Linked DNA regions of Homo sapiens: all the other regions are linked to region 3. The links are contacts of gene promoters, found by promoter capture Hi-C in human tissues and cell types (Jung and others, 2019). All regions are on one chromosome and are shown on one strand. Each heading gives the region's core, a stretch centred on a gene start or on the middle of the fragment in contact. The rest is flanking DNA. Distances are from core to core; before and after follow the strand shown. Region 1 has its middle 19 kb from the start of LINC01843. Region 2 overlaps CDKL3 (cyclin dependent kinase like 3). Region 3 holds the start of CDKN2AIPNL (CDKN2A interacting protein N-terminal like).

What was found. Contacts are between HindIII fragments. The study calls those that stand out against the background at their distance.
Region 1: a fragment that was not itself captured here is called in contact with the fragment with the promoter of CDKN2AIPNL in region 3 in 3 of the 25 tissues and cell types used here (aorta, lymphoblastoid cells and pancreas).
Region 2: a contact is called between a fragment that was not itself captured here and the fragment with the promoter of CDKN2AIPNL in region 3, in 2 of the 25 tissues and cell types used here (bladder and dorsolateral prefrontal cortex).

Annotation. Positions count from the first base shown.
Region 1 is chr5:134,485,557-134,488,662 of GRCh38, forward strand. No RefSeq gene overlaps it. Among named protein-coding and RNA genes, the nearest start is that of LINC01843, 19 kb to the right of the region's middle. The HindIII fragment of the contact is 6,099 bases long and covers 1-3,106 here.
Region 2 is chr5:134,328,783-134,331,482 of GRCh38, forward strand. All of the region lies in intron 4 of CDKL3 (cyclin dependent kinase like 3), which reads right to left. Among named protein-coding and RNA genes, the nearest start is that of CDKL3, 37 kb to the right of the region's middle. The HindIII fragment of the contact is 4,026 bases long and covers 1-2,700 here.
Region 3 is chr5:134,410,464-134,413,241 of GRCh38, forward strand. It overlaps CDKN2AIPNL (CDKN2A interacting protein N-terminal like), which reads right to left and starts at 1,418. Exons shown (of 3, transcript NM_080656.3): 1 at 1,153-1,418. The coding sequence starts at 1,391. RefSeq lists enhancers at 810-1,548, 1,072-1,561, 1,549-2,286. The HindIII fragment of the contact is 17,979 bases long and covers 1-2,778 here.

The DNA.
Region 1 (3,106 bases), core at 551-3,050, 75 kb after region 3:
TGTTGTAATTAAAAGGGGATGGCATTGATTTGGGGATGCGCAATAAGCCCAATGGAAAAGAGATGAGATCACAGAAATAGATCCACACATATTTAGATGCTTGATGTATGACAGAGATGGCACTATATAGCAGTGGCAAAAAGACTCTCAATAAACTTTGCTGGGATATCTGAGTACCCATATGTGAAAATAATAAAATTGGACCCCTACCTCACACCATACCTCAAAATCAACTCCAGTGTCATATGGCCCTAAATATAAAAGACAAAATTACAAAGCTTTAAAGTAATAATGTAGAAGAATATCTTCATAGTCTTGGATTTTAAAAGTTTTCTTAAGTAAGGTACAAAAAGTAATATCGCAAAGGAAAGATGGACAAAATTAGGAATATCTGTTCATCAAAAGACAACATTGAGTGAAAGGCCAGCCACAGAGTAATAGAAGATAATTGCAACAGATAAAACTGACAAAAATCTTGTTGCTAGAATATATACAGAATTCATATCAATTAGTGATAAAAGACAGGCAATCCAGCAGAAAAATGGGCAAAAGATAGGAACTTTACAAAAAAGAAATCCAAAAGTCAGTAACATAAAAATGTGATCAACTTCTTTAGTAATGTGGGAAAGGTAAAATAAAAGCATAATAAAGTACTACTACACACTTACCAAACTGACCAAAATTTAAAATTTTGACAATTCCAAGTTTTAGCAAAAACACTCATTCATGTAAATTTACACAAACTTGTATAACTACTTTAGAATACAGTTCAGCATTATCCAATTAAGCTGAAAATAACATACTCTATGCCCCAGCAATTCTGCTCTTAGATAAATATCCTACAGAAAAGTGAGCTTACGTGCATCAGGAAACATGGACAAGAATGTTCATAGAAGCATTGTTTGTAGTAGTCTTGTCATAGGTCAGGTTCTCAGGAAACATGCTGGGATAGAGTTTGGGGTACAAGATATTTATTAGGATCAACATTGATATGGTTTGGATATTTGTCTCCTTCAAATATCATGTTGAAATGTGACCCACAATGCTGGAGGTGGGCCTAGTGGTAGGCATCGGGTCACAGGGCTGATCCCTCATGAATGGTTTGGTGCCCTTGCTGCAGTAATGAGTGGTAATGAGTTCACAGGAGAGCTGGTTGTTTAAAGGAGCCTGTTACTTCCTCCTCTCTTGCTCCATCTCTTGCCATGTGACACACCTGCTCCCCCTTTGCCTTCCACCATGAGAGGAAGCTTCCTGAGGTCCTTCCATAAAGTAGATGCTGGCAGCATCATGCTTCATGTACAGCCTGCAGAATGGTGAGCCAAATAAGCCTACTTTTTTTTTCTTTTTTTTCCTGCTCTTCTCCCTCCACCTCTTTTCTTTCTTTTTTCTTTTTTTTTTTTTTGAGATGGAGTTTTGCTCTTGTTGCCCAGGCTAAAGTACAATGACGTGACCTCGGCTCACTGCAACCTCCTTCTCCTGTGTTCAAGCAATTCTCCTGCCTCAACCTTCCGAGTAGCTGGGATTATGGGCACCCACCACCACATTGGGCTAATTTTTGTATATTTAGTAGAGACAGAGTTTCACAGTGTTGGCAAGGCTGGTCTCGAACTCCTAACCTCAGGTGATCCGACCACCTAGGCCTCCCAAAGTGCTGGGACTACAGGCATGAGCCACCACACCCGACCCTCTTTTCTTAATAAATTACCCAGTCTCAGGGATTCCTTTATAGCAACACAAATAGACTAATACAAACATCTCTGAAGGGAAGGGAGAAAAAGCAGGATTGGGCAGAAGTTAAAACTGTGATGCAGGCCTAATGAAACCCAAGCCAAGCTGGCGGGGAACTCTGGTGCAAATAGTCTGCATCTGAGTTGTCCTGTGTTGGATGAAAATGGCCCAGCCTCCATTCACTTGCTTTCGTTGGATACTAGATGCAAAGTGCTCTGGAAAGGATATGATGTTGGGCAAGGCAGCTCTCTGCAGCTCAGGTGGACCCCAAAGAAGCTGTCATCTGAAGGTTTCTGCTGATCACACCCTCTACAACTGGACAGCAAATCCTTCCTTGAAGAGGGATCTGGGTGACACATCTCTCTGTCTACCACAGGGCCCAAACTGGAAACAACATAAATGCCTATCAAGTGAAGAAAGGTTAGACTCTGCAGTGTTCATATAATATACTCATAATCCCCTAGTGTCTCCTTGTGCCTCCTGATCCGTCACTATAGGTTGGTCTTTTTTCTAGAATCATATATTAATGGAACTATACAGTATATACTAATTATATTGAGGCTCATCTATGTTGTTGTATGTAACAGCAGTTCATTCCTTTTTATTGTTGAGCAGTATTCCATTATCTGGATATATGGCAATTTGTTTTTCCACTATCTTGTTGATAGACATTTGGATTATTCCCAGTTTGGGGCTGTTATAAATAAAGCAACTATGAACATTGTGTACAAAACTTTGTATGGACATATGCTTTCATTTCTCTTTGGTAAATACCTAGGAATGGAATGGCTGGGTCATATGATAGGTATATATTTATCTTTTTAAGAAATGATCTAAGTGTTTTCCGAAGTGGTTGTTCCATTTTGCGTTCTCATCAGCAGCATATGAGAGAGTTCCTGTTGTACCCTTCCTGGACTCCATCTTTGCCAATACTTGATTTGGTCAGTTATTTTGTTTTATTGTTTGTTTTTCTGTTTTGAGATGGAGTCTCGCCCTGTCGCCCAGCCTGGAGTGCGGTGGCAAGATCTCGGCTCACTGCAATCTCCACCTCCTGGGTTCAAGCGATTTTCCTGCCTCAGTCTCCCAAGTAGCTGGGATTACAGGCGCATGCCACCATGCCCTGCTAATTTTTGTATTTTTAGTAGAGACAGGGTTTCACCATATTGGCCAGGCTGGTCTCAAACTCCCGACCTCAGGTGATCCGGCTGCCTCGGCCTATGAAAGTGCTGGGATTACAGATGTGAGCCACCACGCCTAGCCTGGTCAGTTATTTTAAATTCTAGCCCTTCTAGGGGGCATGTAGTTTTAATTTGTAGTTGCCTAATGACAAACTGTGTTGAGCATCTTTTCATGTATTTATTTGCCATCTAAATATATT
Region 2 (2,700 bases), core at 166-2,665, 82 kb before region 3:
ACTTTGGTAAGATTAACAACAGACTTCTTAATAGAAACAATGGAGACCAGTAGATAGTGGTACAACAATTAAAAGTGCTCAAAAAAGACCTCTCAACAAAAACGCCTATATCTAGCAAAGATATCTTTCAAAAATGAAGGTGAAAGTTAAGACTTTCCAAAATAAACAAAAACTGAGAGAATTTGTTGCTAACCAATCCACCTCACAAGAAATACTGAATGAAGTTCTTAAGACTGAAAGCAAGTGACCCCAGACAGTAATTCAAATCCACAGGAAGGCCAGGTACAGTTCCTCATACCTGTAATCCCAGCACATTTGAGGGCTGAGGTGGGAAGATTGCTTGAGGACAGGAGTTCGAGACCAGCCTAGGCAATATAGTGAGACTTTGTCTCTACAAAAAAATAAATTAGGTGGGTGTGGTGGCACATGCCTGTAGTCCCAACTATTTGGGAGGCTGAAGCAGGAGGATTGATTGAGCCCAGAAGGTTGAGGCTGCAGTGAGTCACGATCACTCCACTGCACTCCAGCCTGGGTAACAGAGTGAGATCCTGTCTCAAAAAAATAAAAAATCCACATGAAAAAACAAAGAGCACTGGTAAAGGTAATTATGTAATTATAAAAGGCAATATAAATGCAGAATTTTCTCTCTTCTTCTGTTAATTAATTTAATTTAATTTAATTTTTTATTTTATTTATTTATTTATTTTTTGAGACAGAGTCTCGCTCTGTCGCCCAGGCTGGAATGCAGTGGAGTGCAGCTCACTGCAAGCTCCGCTTCCTGGGTTGACGCCATTCTCCTGCCTCAGCCTCCAGAGTAGCTGGGATTACAGGCACCCGCCACTACGCCCGGCTAATTTTTTGTATTTTTAGTAGAGAGGGGGTTTCACCATGTTAGCCAGGGTGGTCTCCATCTCCTGACCTCGTGATCCACCCACCTCGGCCTCCCAAAGTGCTGGGATTACAGGCGTGAGCCACCACGCTGTTAATTAATTTTAAAAAGCAATTATACAAGGGGACTTCAAAAAGTTCATGATAATGGAATTAAAAGATAAAAATTAAAATATAAGCTTTATTCTCATTAGCCGGGCATGGTGGCACACACCTGTAATCCCAGCTATTTGGGAGGCTGAGGCAGGAGAATTGCTTGAGTCTGGAAGGTGGAGATTGCAGTGAGGTGAGATCGCGCCACTGCACTCCAGTCTGGGCAACAGAGTGAGACCCTGTCTCAAAAAAAAAAAATTAATAATAATAATAATGATACTCTAAGAAAAAATAAAAATATAAACTTTATTCTCAGTGTAAGATCCATAAGGTTCAAGATACTTTTGTAAGCAGTGATACAAGCCATTTAGTATGTCCCTAAAGAACTGAGTGTCTTGGGAATTTAACCATGTCAATGTAGTCCTTTTTACATTGTTAACTGAAGAAAAATGGGTGCCCTTTATAGATTTTTTAAGATTAGGAAAAAAAAGAATGAGGAGGAACTAAATCAGGACTTTAAGGTAGATGCCTAATAATTTCCCACCAAAATGTTTATAAAATTGCCCTCGTTTGATGAGAGGAATGAGCTGGAGCATGGTCATGGTGGAGATGGACACTCTGGTGAAGCTTTCCCAGACGTTTATTTTGCTAAATCTTTGGCTCACTTTTGGCCAGGTGTAGTGGCTCATGCCTGTAATCTCAACACTTTGGTAGACCAAGGCAGGCAGAGTGCTTGAGCTCAGGAGTTTGAGACCAGCCTGGACAACATGGTGAAACCCCATCTCTACAAAAAATACAAAATGTAGCTGGGCATGGTGGCACATACCTGTAGTCCCAGCTACTTGGGAGGCTGAGGTGGGAGGATTGCTTGAGCCCAGGAAACAGAGGTTGCAGTGAGCCAAGTTCCCACAACTGCACTCCAGTCTGGGTGACAGAGCCAGACCCTGTCTGAAAGAAAAAAAAACAAAAAAAGCTTTGGCTAACTTTCTCGAAACATTCTCACAAGAAGCAGATATTATCATTCTCTGGTCATCCAGAAAGTCAACAAGCAAAATGCCTTGAGCATCCCAAAAAAACCATTGCCATGACCTTTGGTCTTGACTGGACTCTTGCTTTGACCAGCCCACTTCCACCTCTTGGTAGCCAGTGCTTCGTCTTCAGGATAATGTTAGTAAAGCCAGGTTTCATCATCTGTCACAGTTTTTCAAAGAAATGCTTCAGGATCTTGATGCCACCTGTTTAAAATTTCCATTGAAAGTTCTGCTCTCGTCTGCAGCTGATCTGGTTGCAACGGTTTTGGCATCCATCAAGTGGAAAGTTTGCTCAATTTTAATTTTGCAGTCAGAATTGTGTAAGCTGAACCAACTGAGATGTCTATACTGTTGGCTACTGTTTCTACTATTAATCATCCTTCAATTAGGGCAATCGTCCCCTTCAATTAGGGCATGAACAAGATAAATGTTTTCCTCACAAGTTGATGTGAATGGTCTGCTGCTGCAGGCTTCATTTTTAACATCCTTTCCTCCTTTCTTTTTTTAATTTAATTTATTTTTTAAATTACTATAAAGTTCTAGGGTACATGTGTAAAATGTGCAGGTTTGTTACATAGGTATATGTGTGCCATGTTGGTTTGCTGTACCCATCAACTCGTCATTTACATTAGGTATTTCTCCTAACACTATCCCTCCCCCGGGCCCCCACCCACCAACAGGCCCCAGT
Region 3 (2,778 bases), core at 168-2,667:
CAGAAATACCAGTACAGCAGATGTTTCAAGATTTAGAAGAACAGAGGCACTGTACATCCAGCAACAGATATTCTCAGATACAGGATGAGGACCAAAATATTTTTATTTTTTAAATACATGGAATGTTAGTCTAACAAAAACATTATTTATTTCCCCAATTCTCTGACATTTGCCTAACCATGGAAAACCAGGATTTCCCAGGAGCACCTAGAAGGCAGGGAAAAGGGACGGGTGCCTCTGGCATTGCTTCCCTACGTACTGTTCTAATAAACCCCAATATGTGAAGCAAAACCAAGTGGCTTAGGCCTGCAGGGGCCAAATGACCAGAGTCAGGCAGCCATAATAGGTATAGAAACCAAGATCAAACCAAGTCACCCTATTTTCCTAACACAATTTCAGGAAAATCGAAGCTCTCTAATAGGGAGTCTCAAGATTTGCCACCTTCCTCATGGAGGGGTGAAAGGAATGCCTTATCAGGCACTTCAAAAGCGGGCCTTTGTCCTTTTGGTGCTGCAGCCAGGATGAAGTGGGCTTTGAGACCTTCACAAAAAGGCATCGGCCATTTTCATAAGAGGGAAAGCAGAGAGGTGAAGCTGGTTCCTACTTAGGACCCCGTGGGCTGTGGAGTGAGGAGAAAAAGCCATAGGATACAGATTACATCCTCTCATTAGTGATTAAAATCCATCAATCCTGCCAGAAGCTGCATGGCCCCAGGTATATCACTTCTCTCCCTAAGCTTTTTCATCTGTAAAATGGGGATCTCCGTTTCTCTCTCTGCACGTTTGCCATGTAGGTGACAGGGGCTAACGGACTTCGAATGCATACTGCAAAGGTGATGGTTTGAGCTAATAATAATAGTAATACAAATAACAATAGCAACCTTTGAACCCGCCATGTATTTAGCTCTTCACCCTTTAATTATTACAGCCATCATAACCACCCTTTTACCAGAAGAGAAAACTGAGGCTCAAAGATAAGGATCTTTCCAAGGGGCCTCCAGGGTGGGAATCAGTCTTCGGGCCGACCAATGCGGATGGAGGTTGGGCCCGGGTTCAGTCTGGGGCAGAGGTTCGGGTCAGGGGTGAGCCCTGGGAGAGGCCTTGAGGGTCGGAAGATAGGGGACAGGATCAGCCGGCCGGCAGGGGTCCGCACCTGCAGCCTAGGAAGAGATGGTTGGCCCAGACCATGGAGAGGGAGAGCAGCTGGTCCAGGCGGCCACTGCCGTCGGGCGGGTCGCGGTAGTCGGGCAGGTGGCGCAGGATGAATTCCATGCGGGCCTTCCATTGCTTCTCGCTCTCTGAGTAGGAGCGGAACTGCTCCGCGAAGTCGGCCGCCTGCCGCACCCCCGAAACCAGCTCCTCCACTGCGGCAGCCGCCTCGCCACCGACCATGGTGCCCGCCGCAGCCGAGGACCGGATAGCCCGCCGCCTTCCCGACGCGCACTGCGCCACCGCCTGCCGGCCAGAGGGGCCCCATCAGCGCACGACTGCTCCAGAAGACCAACCTGGAGCGCCCTCGCCCGGAGCGGCGGCCTGCGGGGGCACAGAGCGGCTCCTGGCTCCTCAGACCGCCGCAGCCCGTGGCTCCTGCCCTGGGTCTACCCAGGGCTACAAGGGTCTTTTGCGGTCGACCCTGCGGGGAACCGGTGGGAAAACTGAGGTCCCTAAACACAGATTCGGAGCGCCCTCTTCCAGTTGGCAGCTGGATGCCAGCCAGAGCTATGCTGTGCCCTTGCCCTGAGAGTTTCCCGGGCACCGCCTCATCCTGAGCGACATCAGGGGGCCCGGGTCACGGTCGACTTCCAGGGGTCTCCACAGCCACGAAGGTTGGGGCCCGCCTTCCTGGAGCGAGTAATCCATCCATCCCGTGAATACTTGCCAGGCACATTGCTAGGTGCTGGAGAGGCAATGAGAGCACATTCGGAGCCCTGCTCGCCTGAACTTTACCATGGAGTGGAGGAGTGGACATTAGTGACATAATTGCTCAAGTAAATGGAGAATTTCAGCGTTGACAAGTATTAGTAAAGAGAAGTTCAGCGTGCTACAACCATGAATAAGCAAGGGACCCAATCTAGTCTTGGGGTCAGGGAAGTGATCCTGGAGAAGTGAAGAATGAGCAGTTTTCTGAGTAAAGGGGAGTCGGTCAAAGCAAGAGAGAGCATGGCCTGGTAAGAGAATTGCAAGATAGGGGGTAGGAGGGGTTGGGGGGCGGGGCAGGGCAGGTAGAGAATGGAGAAGATGAAGTTGCAGAGGTCAGCAAGGCCAGTAGGCCAGGCAGGGATCCTGGCTAGATCCCAAGAATGGGGAGCCGCTGAAGGATTTTAACCAGAACAGTGACACCTGTGTTTACAAAAGATGCTGGAAGGAGCCAGAAACAATGTGTCCAGAGGAAATGAGCAAGTTTGGACTTGGTTTTAAATAGAGACAGGGTTTCGCCATGTTGCCCAGGCTGGTCTCGAACTCCTGAGCTCAAGTGATCCGTCTCCCTCAGCCTCCCAAAATGCTGGGATTACAGGTATGAGCCATCGTAACTGGCTGGACCTGAAAGTTTTTATTTAGCTGGCATGACTCTGCTGTCTGTTCGAGTCTCAGGTAGCAGACACACTGAGAGAAAAAAGAGCTTCCTTTTAAGTGGTGAATTTTCCATCCCTGGAAGCATTCAACTACAGTAACTGGGTGTTGGGGCTCAGAAACCAACACCCCAAAATGTATTTTGACATGCTGAACTGATGAAGAAGCCTCAAGGTCTCTGTGACCTCCGCCACCAACACACACTCCT